2 separate regions of the Homo sapiens genome follow, and region 1 is linked to region 2. The links are contacts of gene promoters, found by promoter capture Hi-C in blood cells and fetal thymus (Javierre and others, 2016). All regions are on one chromosome and are shown on one strand. The core of a region is centred on a gene start or on the middle of the fragment in contact, and the rest is flanking DNA. Distances in the headings are between cores, read along the strand shown.

The links. Contacts are between HindIII fragments. The CHiCAGO score rates a contact against its expected background, and 5 or more counts as called.
Region 1: a contact is called between a fragment that was not itself captured here and the fragment with the promoter of ADCY9 in region 2, in 5 of 17 cell types (M1 macrophages, M0 macrophages, M2 macrophages and 2 more). The highest score is 11.2, in M1 macrophages.

Annotation. Positions count from the first base shown.
Region 1 is chr16:4,254,993-4,261,724 of GRCh38, forward strand. TFAP4 (transcription factor AP-4) reads right to left here. Exons shown (of 7, transcript NM_003223.3): 5 at 5,463-5,603; 6 at 5,098-5,253; 7 at 2,194-3,257. The coding sequence ends at 3,063. Among named protein-coding and RNA genes, the nearest start is that of LINC01569, 4.6 kb to the left of the region's middle. The HindIII fragment of the contact is 217 bases long and covers 4,462-4,678 here.
Region 2 is chr16:4,114,001-4,120,733 of GRCh38, forward strand. It overlaps ADCY9 (adenylate cyclase 9), which reads right to left and starts at 2,442. Exons shown (of 11, transcript NM_001116.4): 1 at 1,690-2,442; 2 at 1-1,485. The coding sequence starts at 1,442. RefSeq lists a silencer at 2,580-2,649. The HindIII fragment of the contact is 5,610 bases long and covers 1-5,289 here.

The sequences.
Region 1 (6,732 bases), core at 3,320-5,819, 140 kb after region 2:
CCACCTCCCCGGTGCAAGTGATTCTCCTGCCTCAGCCTCACCAGTAGCTGGGACCACAGTTACTGGCATTCGCCACCATGCCAGGCTAATTTTTGTATTTTTAGTAGAGACGGGGTTCCACCATGTTGGCCAGGCTGGTCTCAAACTCCTGACCTCAAGTGATCCGCCCACCTCGGCCTCTCAAACTGCTGGGATTACAGGCGTGAACCACTACTGTGCCCAGCCTAATTTTTGTATTTTAGTAGAGTTGGGGTTTCACCATGTTGGCCAGGCTGGTCTTGAACTCCTGACCTCATGTGATCCACCCGCCTCGGCCTCCCAAAGTGCTGGGATTACAGGTGTGAGCCACCACGCCCAGCCAACTACTTTAATTTTTTAAAAAAGATATTAAAACCAGAAAGCAGGTGGTTGCTGGAGACTGGGAGGAGGGGGAAGGAGTGACTGCTTCATGGAGTCATTTTGGAGTGACGGACATGTTTTGGAACCAGGTAGGCTGTGTAACACTGTGAATGTATGAAGTGCCATTGAATTGTTCACTGTAAAATTCCAAGAAAACCTGCAGACTCCTGCCTTTCTGTGAAGAGTTCGTGTCCACTGTCATCGTGGGGTGAGCTGTGATTCTGCCTTCTGCTCTGGCCTCAGTCCCCAAGCACCCAGCACTGTGAGCATGAGGCATAGGAGGGGACCACGGTGTAAATCGATCTCTGGTCACGGAAGAGTGAAGGATTTAAAGGACCATGGCCTAGCCTGGGCAACATGGCAAAACCCTGCCTCTACAATAAAATATAAAAAAGTCAGCCGGGCCCAGGCCAGGCACGGTGGCTCACACCTGTAATCCCAGGACTTTGGGAGGCCAAGGTGGGTGGATCACCTGAGGTCAGGAGTTCAAGACCAGCCTGGCCAACATGGTGAAACCCCATCTCTACTAACAATACAAAAATTAGCTGGGCATGATGGTGGGTGCCTGTAGTCCCAGCTACTCAGGAGGTTGAGGCAGGAGAATCGCTTGAACCTGTGAGGCAGAGGTTCCAGTGAGCCAAGATCGTGCCATTGCATTCCAGCCTGGGTGACACAGCAAGACTCCATCTCAAAAAAAAAAAAAAAAAAAAAAATTAGCCAGGCTTTGTGGTACAGGCCTGTAGTCCTAGCTACTAGGGAGGCTGAGGTGGGAGGATCACTTGAGACCAGGAGGTCAAGGATGCAGTGAACTGTGATCAAAACACTGCACTGCAGCCTGGGCGACAGAGCAGGACCCCATCTCACACCAAAAAATAATAATAAAAATTTAAAAATAGCCAGGCATGGTGGCTCATCCCTTTAATCCCAGAACTTTGGGAGGCCGAGGTAGGCGGATCACTTGAGGTCAGGAGTTCAAGACCAGCCTGGTCAACATGGTGAAACCCTGTCTCTACTAAAAATACAAAAATTAGCTGGGCATGGTGGTGCACTCCCGTAGTCCCAGCTACTTGAGAGGCTGAGGCAAGAAGATTGCTTGAACCCAGGAGATAGAGGATGCAGTGAGCCGAGATCACGCCACTGCACTCCAGACTGGGAGACAGAGACTCTGTCTCGAAATAAAGGACCATGCCAATCCCCAATAGGATGCAATGTCCTTGTGCCGTTATTATCGCCAATTTTTAGAAGAAGAAATTGAGGCTCAGAGGAAGCGGTTTGTCAGAGGGGGAACTGACCTCTGGCAGACCAATTCCAGGATCTTAGCACTTAAACACCACACCACGGGGGGGCAGGGGGGTGCTGGGGGGGTGCGGTTGGAGGGGGTGGGGTTCCCCTCCTAGGGGAGGAGAGGATGAGGCTCAGAGAAGTTACAGAAGCCCAGGAAGTGGCAAAACCTAGGGATTAACCAAAGCGTAGGGACCAAGCAGGGCCCCTGAACACCTGTGTCCTTTCCCAGGTTTTCGGAATCGGTGGCTTGGTTGTCCTTCTCTCCTTGCCGCCCACCAAAGAGCCACTCCCCAGCCTCAACACCATCTTCCATCTTTACAGAATACCCAGGGTCATCCCAGGGAAACTGAGGACCCCAATTTTTCATCGCAACACCACACACAAGCTGAGGGAGTAACTGTGCTCACACACACCCAGTCCGCTTTGGGGGGCCCAAGGAGCCCCCCTACTCTAGATGGGGTAGCCCTGCCCTGGTCTTCAGGCCAGCCCACACCCAGGAGACTCAGAATCTAAAAAACAAAGTACAAACTTTATTTTGTTTCTTTACAAAGGCACGGTGGCCTCTTGGTTTTTTTCTCCCCACTTTCTTAACAAAATATAATAGCTTCTCCTTGAACACGAAGACCTCAAAATTGTAAAAAAAAAAAAAAAAGAAAGAAAAAAAAGAAAAACAAAACAAAAACAGAAAGCAAACCAAAAAGAAATAAAAAACCAACAACAAACAAAACAAAAAGAGAGAGACAGACATTTTTGGGGTGGAAGATGAGACCTGGAGGCAGAGGTGGGGGCTGGGGGGTGGGAGAGTGGCGAATTCTAGTGCCGAGATGGGGAAGGGGGAGGGGGGCACAGCAGCAGCAAACCCCAACCAAGAAGCAACGGAGACCTCCGGGCCCCCAGAATGCCCCAGCCTAGTCTTACCCCCAACCATGTAAGTGCTTAAAGGAGAAAGAAGAAAACCCAAAAAGAGGAAGGAAAGGGGATTGAAGGCTGACAATCCCAGGCTGGCTCTGGGCAGGGAAGAAATAACCTGGGGTTTTGTTTAATTTTCCCTGTTCTTAAAAAACATATTTAAAGGAAAAAATGCTTTTTGGCAGAGAGAGGCCAGGCATCTCCGTGTCAGCTTCCTCCAGCCCCCGGGGCCGAGGCCCCGCCCTGGGGTGCCGATGCTCCCACACGCTCTGCGACACCCCAGCCCCGGGACCTCGGGTTGAGTGGCTTCGTTCAAAGGTCGATTTACAGTATTGAAAAAGAGGTCATAAAAGAGACCCAAATGACATCGTAATTTTGTAAAAATTTCTCACTCATTCGCCCATGTCTCTCCCTGTGGCTGCCCCGGCTCCCTCCAGCCCCCAGAAGGGAGAGGAGGGCTGGGGGGGTAGTCAGGGAAGCTCCCCGTCCCCCGACGGCTCCTCCCGGCTCTGGTCCATGGCGTCACTGTCTGAGGCCTCGGAGTCGGAGGCGGTGTCAGAGGTGGGGGCCTCCGGGCAGCTGCGGACAGGCTTCACGATGACAGCTCGCCGCTGCTCCTCCTCCAGCTCCTGCTTTTCCTGGGTGCCCTCGATGTGCTGGATTGCCTGGACAGGGACGAACCACTGAGAAGGCTCGGCCGGGGATACATGGCCAGCCAGGAGACAGTGGGGGCTCTCAGCCAGCCACTGTCACCCCCAAAACACATAGCCCAGAAAAAAGCCTGGCAAAGCAGCAGGGGAGGCCCGCTAGAGTACAGGAAAAACAAACTCCTTTTACTTTTTTTTTGGAGACAAGCTCTCGCTATATCACCCAGGCTAGAGTGCAGTGGCATGATCATAGCTTACTGCAGTCAGACTCCTGGGCTCCAGCGATCCTCCTACTGCTCCCTCCCTAGTAGCTGGAACCACAGGGGTGCGCCACCATCCCCAGCTAACTTCTGTATTTTTGGTAGAGACGAGGGGGTTCTTGCTATGTTGCCCAAGCTGATCTCGAACTCCTGACCTCAGGCAATCTTCCTGCCTCAACCTCCAAAAGTCCCGGGATTACAGGCATAAGCCACCACGCCTGACCCAGGAACAAACTTTCAAAACCCCTCTGTTAAGTTGAAAAATCCATTCTGGGAAGATGACAGTCCCAGTGCTGCTTAGAAATTATATTATATGTATCAGCCAGGCGCAGTGGCTCACGCCTGTAATCCCAACACTTTGGGAGGCCAAGACGGGAGGATCACCTGACGTCAGGAGTTCGAGACCAGCCCCTCAACAGAGGCCAGAAGCCTACTAAAAATACAAAATTTGCCAGGCGTGGTGGCACATGCCTATAATCCCAGCTACTTGGGAGGCTGAGGCAGGAGAATCACTTGAACCTGGGAGGAGGAGGTTGCGATGAGCTGAGATAGCACCATTGCACTCCAGCCTGGGCAATAAGAGCGAAACTCTATCTCAAAAAAAAAGAAAAAAAAAGAAATAATATGGACCTTTCATATGTTTTTGTTTGTTTGTTTTTTGAGAAAGAGTCTCACCGTGTCACCCAGGCTGGAGTTCAGTGGTGCAATCTCAGCTCACTGCAACTTCCACCTCCCATGTTCAAGCGATTCTCCTGCCTCAGCCTCCCGAATAGCTGGGATTACAGGCGTGCACCACCACGTCAGGCTAATTTTTGTATTTTTAATAGAGATGGGGTTTTCACCATGTTGGCCAGGCTGGTCTCGAACTCCTGACCTCAAGTGATCCACCCACTTTGGCCTCCCAAAGTGCTGGGATTGCAGGTGTGAGCCACCACACCCGGCCATATGTTTATGTATTTTAAAGCTTGCCTATTAACTTATTAAAGGCGTTTGTTATTAATTGTATTACACAATTTGCAAAGTTTATGAGCAATTAAAATTCGAGGAGATTGATGGATTTTTTTTCCTGTTTTGGCTTTTTTGGTTATTTATTTATTATTTACTGATTTCTGATCTTGGGCTCCTCAAGGGGCCCTGTTCAAGGGTGAATGCAACTGTAACTTCAGGCTTGACCCACAAAGCTTCCTCCTCTGTAGGAGGCCCAACTATCACCAGCCCTGCCACCTGTATCTCCATCCAGGTCCTAGGAGATGGAGCTGAGACAATGTTCCGGACCAACCCAAGAGCTGGATGCAGGAACTCTGTAACCAGGGGGCTCTGGGAGCAAAGGACCCTCTCCGGAAACCCCATATTGAGGGAAGGGACAGTCTTCCTGGCCAACTCCTCCTACTGGCGTGGTAGGCCCTGCCCCGATCTCTGGCCCTCACATTCTCCACTTGCAGATCCAGGGACGGGGCCCCCCAAGGCTTCCAGCCCTCCACCCCTTCCCACACAAGCACCATCTTCCTCCGCTTCTGCCCCTCTTTTCCAGTCTCCCCTAAAGAGCCTGTTCCCGGAGTATGACCCCCACAAGCTGCCCCTTTCTCAAGCTCAGGTACCTGCACGATGGTGTCCAGATTTTGCCGGGATGTGGAAACAGAGTTGATGACCGAGGAGGGGCCCATGGTGACGACATTGATGTGGTGGGAGGGAGGAGGAGGCGGTGCTGGCACGATCACCGTGGGGTGGTGGGTGGGGGCCGGAGGGGGCAGAAGCTGCAAGACAGAGGCCCTCAGCCTTTCTCTCAAGGCTTCTCTTGGCCCATCCACCTCCCTTTCATGCAGAGCTGGCCAATGTATAACTGCCTCTGCCCCTTTATATTAAGAAGCAGAGAGGACGTGGCCTAGGGAGAGGCTTCCGCCATTCAAGATCACCTGTCCCCTTCCCGGTCCCCAGAGCCCACTCCCGGGCGCCTCCTGCTCACCTGGGTCCGCAGCTGCTGCTGTTCCCGCTCCAGCTTCTCCTGGTGCAGCAGCCTCACCTGTTCCTGCTGCTGCTGCAGCTGCACCTGCTGCGCAATCACCTTGAGCTTTTCCGGGTACATGTGGGCCTCCAGCGAGCGCACCTGGAGGCAGGACAACCTGGGCTCAGGGCCAAGGCCGGGAGCACACCCTGCCCTGTCAGTCTCACAGCAGCTCATTCACTCCTGCTGAAAACCCTAGCACAGGGCGGGCCCCTCTCAACAGAGGCCAGAAGCCTTTCCAGAGCCCTTCAGCCCCCGGCTCCTCTCGCCTCCCACCTCGGCCTCCACTGGACCATGCTCCCTCCTGCCCGAGTCTTTGCCTATGCTATTCCCTCTGCCGGGAACACCTTTCTCTGTCCTTTGGTTAACTATGAGACTCAACTTCCCACTTCCATGGAGATGCCGTGGGGCGTCCCTTGAAAAACCCCTCCTGATGCCACAGCTCCAGCCTGGCCTTCAATATGGTTTTTTGTTTTTGTTTTTTGGTTTTTTTGAGCCATGGTCTCCTTCTGTCACTCAGGCTGCAGTGTAGTGGCACAATCATGGCTCACTGCAGCCTCCACCTCCTGGGCTCAAGCAATCCTCCCAGCTCAGCCTCCTGAGTAACCGGGACTACAGGCACACCCCACCACACCTGGCTAATTTTTGTATCTTTTTTGGTAGAGACAGAGTCTCACTATGCTTCCCAGGCTGATCTCAAACTCCTGGGCTCAAGCGATCCTCCCACCTCAGCCCCGCAAAGTGCTGGGATTATAGGTGTGAGCCACCATACCCAGCCCATCACGGTTACATTTTTTTTTTTTTGAGATGGAGTCTCGCTCTGTCTCCCAGACTGGAGTGCAGTGGCACGATCTCGGCTCACTGCAAGCTCTGCCTCCCAGGTTCACGCCATTCTCCTGCCTCAGCCTCCCAAACAGCGGGGACTACAGGCACCCACCACCACGCCCGGCTAATTTTTTTTTTTTTTGTATTTTTAGTAGAGACGGGGTTTCACCGTGTTAGCCAGGATGGTATCGATCTGCTGACCTCAGGTGATCCACCCGCCTCGGCCTCCCACAGCATGGTTACATTTTTGAGATCCTTTGGCTAATCTCCCCCACCCCAACGCAGACGGTGGCCCCCAAGGGCAGAGACGTGTCTGGCTTGCTCCCCACTCCTAGGCCTGGCACCGCAGTAGGTGCTCCTGTAAATAGGGCTCCACCGAGGGCCGCAGAGCAAGAGGCGCGACCCC
Region 2 (6,733 bases), core at 1,192-3,691:
TTCTTCTCCTGGCAGAACTGCTCGATGGCCTTGATCATGCCCAGGCCCATCTCGATGCAGCAGTAGGCATGGTCGGCCCGGGGCTCGGGACAGCCCGCCACGCAGTAGTAACAGTCTCCCAGGGTGCTGATTTTCTCACACTTGGTCTCCTCACACAGGCGGTCGAAGCGACCGAACAGATCGTTCAGGAGACCCACCAGGGCGTGGGCAGACTTGTTGGCACTCATCTTGGTGAAGCCCACGATATCTGCAAATAAAATACTGACTTCTTCGATCTGCTGCATCTTAAAAGGGCGGAAGGCTATAGGAGCTTTTTGGATGGAAGACTTTTTCTTCCTGTTCTTGGGGCTCGAGGTGGCATGCCTCTTGACAGAATTCTCACTCTCCTCATCTCCCTGCTTCATTAAGTCATCGGCTATGATTCTTGGCATCACGGAATGAATCATCCTCTCTTTGAGGGCTTTTTCCACTTCCAGGTCCTTCCCGTGCATAATGGATTGCCCCACCTTGAGGAAGGTGCTCCTGGACCTCACCTGGGACATGACGAACAGGTGGACCCCGATGGCGTGGATGCAGCCGTGGAGCAGCCCCCTGCTCAGCAGCTCCCAGTGCAGGGCCCCGGCTCCGGGCGAGGGGAAGCAGGCTTCATCCCGGAAATGGTAGCCAAAGGTCTCGAAAAGGACAGAGTAGGCCACCCCCAGACACAAACTCAGGTACAAAGGTAAGTGCATGACGGTATAGAGCAAAAAGAGCACTTCGATGCACATGGAGAAGCTCCCCACTTGAGATAAGCAAGTATCTGTGGGCCGGGCTGTGGCCGTAAGGTTGGAGCTGTCGCCGCGTCCTGAGACAGGCGTCAAGACCTGGAACTGCGCAGCCAGGGTCAGGGCGAACACCAGCAGGGTGAGAGCCAGCGAGGTCCACGCGTAATGCCGGGCGTACAGCTTGGTGAAGGTAAACAGAAAGAAGCCCACACACACCAGGAGGAAGCACAGCGCGGGGGCGACCATGACGATCAGTCTGGATCTCATGTGGACCGCAAAATAGATGCTCCACAGAAGGCAGGCGAAGCCGATGTAGAAGAGCGCATACCGGAACCGGCGCTGGGTCTGCGGGAAGCAGCGCTCCAGGCAGGCCTCCTCCAGGTTCACCGAGTCGAACTTGGGGTCCCACCAGCGGCTGGAGGCCCTCTCGAACAGCTGGGGCAGCTTCTTCTGCCTGCGCAGCCGGCCTCCGCCGCCCACTCGCCGGGGGACGCCCCCGGAGTCCCCAGAGCTGCTGCAGCTAGAGGAGATGCTGTATTTGCAGTGCTTGGGGTGGCTGTTGGAGGACAGCTGCTTGGGGTTGATCTTGACGCGCACGCTGTTGCTGTCCCCGCTGGAGTCGCAGCTCACCTCGGTGCTGTGGTGATGCAGCAGCTGCTGGTGGGGTGGGGAAGCCATGTTGTCGAGTCCCGGGGCCTGCCCCGGCCGGGGTCACCAGTACCTGCCAGCAAAACGGGGAGAGTTAGCGGCGCTCCCACCTAGGCATGCACGCCTAGAGGCCCGGGACCTGCTCCTGTCCTAAGGGGCGGCTCCAGCACGCGACCTGGACAGGCACCATCTGTTCCTGTGGTTCCCGGCTCAGCGGTGCTCCCACCGCCCCCACCGCCCCCACCTTCGAGGCGCACGAGAACCGCTCGGGACGGACCTAGAACGCCCGGGGGTCCCCGCCGCGTGGCCGCCGTGGCTCCGGGACCGCTTTGCTCGCTCGCCTTCCGCGCCTCTCGCCCCGAGGGTGGCCTCCGCGCCGCGCGGCTTCTCCTCCTCGCGCGCTCGCCTCCTCCAGCTGCGGCTCCGGAGGGAAGTTCAGACCTTGAGCGCTCCCAGCCCCGCGAGCCGCCTGCGCACAAACAACTCCGCTGGCGGCGCGGAGCCCTCCATCCTGCAGGAGCCGCGCTCCGATGCGTCAAAGGCGGCGCGCGGCCGGCCCCGGGCCCGGACCCCGACCCGGAGCAGCGAGCTTCGGCGGGCGCCCCCGGCTCGCGCTCCCCGGCCGCCCCCCGCGCTCCGGGCCGGCCCTGCCCGCGGCGGCGGGCGCTGGGGGTGGGGGCGCCCCGGGCTGCGAGTGCGCGGAGCCCGTCGGCGCGGCCCGTCTAGTGGGGCCTGCTTCCCCCCGAGTGCGCCGCCGCTCCCGCCGCGGCCGCAGCTGTCCCGGGACCGAGCGCGTGGAACCACGGACGCGGGCCCCTCGCCGGGCGGCGGTGCAGACGCTGCCGCAGAGCCGGGCTCCCGCGACGCCGGCCGGGACGCCCGCCCGCCCGCGCCCACGCCGGGGGCCGCCTCCCCGAGCTAGAGATGCGGCCGCCGCCGCGCCCGCCGCCGTGTCCCCCGCGGCCGCTGCCTCATGTCGGAAGAGCTGCCGCCGCCACCATCTCCGGCCCCTGCCCCGCCCGCTGTCACTGACAGACGCGCGCCCGCGCCGCCCCTCGCCCAGCCGCAGCGCGCACGCGCGGCCCGCGCTCGCCGCCACCGCCTCCTGGCCCCGGACACGCGCACGGGCCGCGCGCCGCCCCGCCTTGGTGCGCGCGCTGGGCTGGGGCTGCGGGGCGGGGCGGGGCGGGGCGGGGCGCGCGCTCGGCTCCGCCCCCCGCCCCGGGCGGCGCCGCTTCTAGGCGGCGGGCTGTGGCCGCTGTCCGCGCTCCGGGCGCTGTGGGCCCGCCCTCCCTCGGCGTCCCAGAGGCCGCGCGCCGCCCGGGGTCCCGACCCTGCGGAGAGACCTGAAGGCGCCTGCCGTGGAAGAAGCCGCTGGCCGCAACGTTTGGGAAATCAAAATGTTGCCTTCCCACTCGGCACGCCTTTGGGATAAATCGAAGTTTCCAACCGTTGGATTTCCCTCCCGGGAGGCTCCCCTTGCTCTGTAAGCAATGAATGCGGGCCCCGGGGCACTCGGCCTGCCCTGGACCTGCTCACGGGGCGACCTTCACGGGCCTAGCCTCCAAAGCTGGGCCCACCGACGACCACGTTCCCCCGCCCCAGGGGTAGTTTACCTTGCTGTCCTTGAGCCCTTCTCCCCCTCCTCATGAACTACTGCTTTTCCTTTTACACAAATGAGACTTTCAAAGGAGTCCGCGTCCCATAATGGCAGTTGTGCATTGGCCTCCATAAACATTGCCACGTGTAAATAAAATCCTATTCTCTCTAGCATGCAGATCCCGACCCCTTCTCCCCACACTCCACAGTGCCTCCTGCCAGTCACGGGGCTCTCTTCCATCCCCTCCCTCGCCTCCCAGGCCCAGCGCCGGGGCCCACACCAGGTCTCACTGTTGAATTAGAAAATAAAAGTAAAATGTGATCTGTCCATGCAATGGAATATTATTCGGCTACAAAAAGGAATGGAGCACCGATGCATGCTGCAGTGTGGAGGAACCCGGGAAACGTTATGCTAGTGAAAGAAGCCAAACAAAAAAGGCCACATAGCGTATGATTCCATCCAGATGAAATGTCTCGAATTGGCAAATCCGTAGAGGCGACACAGATTGGAGGTTGCCAGGTGCTAGGGGAGGAAGATAAGCAGCTTGGGGTTTCGTTTTAGGATGATGAAAAAGTCTAGAAATGATCCAACAGGATGAATCTACATACTGCCCTTGAATCATACACTTTAAAGTGGTTTAGGCCGGGAGCGGTGGCTCACGCCTGTAATCCCAGCACTTTGGGAGGCCGAGGTGGGCGGATCACCTGAGGTCGGGAGTTCGAGACCAGCCTGACCAACACGGAGAAACCCCATCTCTACTAAAAATACAAAAATTAGCCGGACGTGGTGGCACATGCCTGTAATCCCAGCTACTCGAGAGGCCGAGGCAGGAGAATTGCTTGAACCCGGGAGGCGGAGGTTGTGGTGAGCTGAGTTCGCACCATTACACTCCAGCCTGGGCAACAAGAGTGAAACTCCATCTCAAAAAATAATAATAAAATAAAATAAAGTGGTTTAAATGGTAAATGTTATGTTGAGTGTATTTTACCACAATAAAGGAGGAAAAAACTAAAAGCAACATATTGTGGTGGTATTCCTGCAGAAGTGTGTAATCTCAATCCAATCGCAAGAAAACACCAGACAAACCCAGATTGAGACCTGTTCTACAAAGTGATTAACCAGTACCCATCAAAAGTGTCCTTGGACACTTTGGGTCTTGAAAGACAAAGACTGAGAAACTGTCACAATCTAGGAATCGTCCCTAAGGGGATAGATACAACAACTAAATGGAACATGGGATGCTGGTTGGGAACATGGAACAGGAAAGGACAGTAGCAGGAGAGCGGGCAAAATTCACATAAGATCTGCAATTTCCTGGTTCTGATCCTCTTACTATGGTTAGGTAAGACGTTAACATTTTTAGGGGAAGCTGGGCCCTGTGCAGTGGCTCACACCTGTAATCCCAGCACTTTGGGAGGCTGAGGCAGACAGACCACCTGAGGTTAGGAGTTCAAGACCAGCCTGGCCAGCATGGTGAAACCCCCGTCTCTACTAAAAATACAGAAATTAGTTGGGCATGGTGGTGTGCGCCTGTAATCCCAGCTACTCAGGAGGCTGAGGCACAAGAATCACTTGAATCCAGGAGACGGAGTTTGCAGTGAACCGAGATCATGCCACTGCACTCCAGCCTGGGCAACAGAGCAGGACTCCATCTTGGGGGAAAAAAAATTAGGGGAAGCTGGATGTAGGATACAGGGAAACTCGCTAGTATTTCTGCAACTCTTCAAGTCTAAAACTATTTCAAAATAAGTTTATCTAAAAATTTAAAAAATAAACCTTTAATGAACATCAATTCTATGCCAGGCACTCTCACATACGAGGTTCAGAAACGCATGGTGTGTCACATGCATTCGCTTAGTAAATGGGATAACAATAGTGAACTAACATTGACCGAACACGTCATAAATGCCAGAAACTACTGGACATTTTCACCTGTGACACATTTGGTCATTGCCACAACCCTCTGAGGTAGATACTATTGTCCCTTGTTTAGAGAGGTGAAACCCAGGATTGAAGAGAAACGCACCCTAGGTCTCCCACTAAGGGTGATGAGTTCAGATGGAAAACCAGGTCTCAGAATTCTGAGGCCATGACGCCTTGTGTGACCCTGGCACTACCCTCTGCAAGCCTCACGATGGCCCAGCACAGACTGTACCTGTCTCATCCATCAGCCCAACTGGATGGGAGGCCCTCAGAGCCAGGACTCACAGCTTCCGTCTTCCCTTGCTGGCTGCAACGCTGTGCTCCCTGCTTCCTGGTTTCCTGAAACGATCTGAAAGCTTGCCTGTCTGCACTTCTTTCCTCCTCCCTAAATCATTTGTGGTAACTTATGTGTTTGTAAGTTAGTCACGTCGGATTTTTAGACACAAGTAATGGTCATACTCACCTCCCTACTTCTCTGGAAGCAATTCGGCCACATTGCCTGCTGTGGAAACCTATAAGCTGACAAGCCTCCCCAGTCTCCAGGTCAGGGAGTGAATCATGCCATCAACCCCGGGGGACTGGGGCTGTGGTGCCAGCACTGTGTGTCAGGCCCTGGAGGTACAAGGATATGCCATCCATATCTTTTCTTTTCTTTTCTTTTTTTTTTTTTTTGAGACGGAGTCTCGCTTTGTCACCCAGACTAGAGTGCAATGGTGCGATCTCGGATCACTGCAACCTTTGCCTCCCGGGGTTCAAGCAATTCTCCTACCTCAGCCTCCAGTGGAGCTGGGATTACCACCATGCCCAGCTGATTTTTGTATTTTTAGTAGAGACAGGGTTTCACCATATTGGCCAGGCTGGTCTCGAACTCCTGACCTCATGATTCACATGCCTTGGCCTCCCAAAAGTGCTGGGATTACAGGCGTGAGCCACCGTGCCCAGCCGCCATCTGTTTCTTTAAGGGGCTTAGGAACGATGTCCAGGGGAGGGGTTGGGTTAAGAAGATGGGATCAATTAGGCTTTCTGAAGGATTGGATGTGAAGGAGAGTTCTATAAAGGAGGTTAACCATCTTCTCATAATGCCAAGACCCAAAGGGAAGTCACTGGAGGGTTCTGGGTTCTTCTTGACCTCCCAGAAGCATAAAGGTACCCGATTCACAGAAGATACGGGGCAGATGCAATAGCTTTCTTCAAACATCCAATCCAGGGTGCTGCCAAATCCACAGAGAGTTTCTTTTTTCCATCTGTGATGTGTACAGAACTCCCACCTGGACACAGTGGGAATCAGAATGTGTCCATGAAAACTCTGCAAAAGCTTGCAGAATGCCTTGCCTGCCTCAGTGTCTCCTCCTCACCCTCCCTCACATGCAAATTCACATGATGGGTGAGGACCTTGGCTCCAGGATATCAGAGGTCAGACTGGGTGGCAACCATGACAGGCTTTGAGATAAGTTGCATAATGATTGAGTTGTAGCCATTCTCATCACACCGGCCCCTGAGGACTCGGCAGTGCCTACGTGATTTCATTTGTCAGGTGGACCACAATCTTGGAGAACCATCTGCTGGAAGATGGGATTCCCTGCTATGGCCTGATCATGCGTCCAAAACTGCAGTTACAAGCTTTGAGTCTTTTTCTCTTTCAACTGATGAGGGTGAGTTTGTAGGAACGTACCTGCTTTTTTTTTTTTTTTTTTTTTTTTTTTTTTGAGATGGAGTCTCACTCTGTCACCCAGGCTAGAGTGTAGTAGCATGATCTCAGCTCACTGCAACTTCCATTTCCCAGGTTCAGGCAATTGTC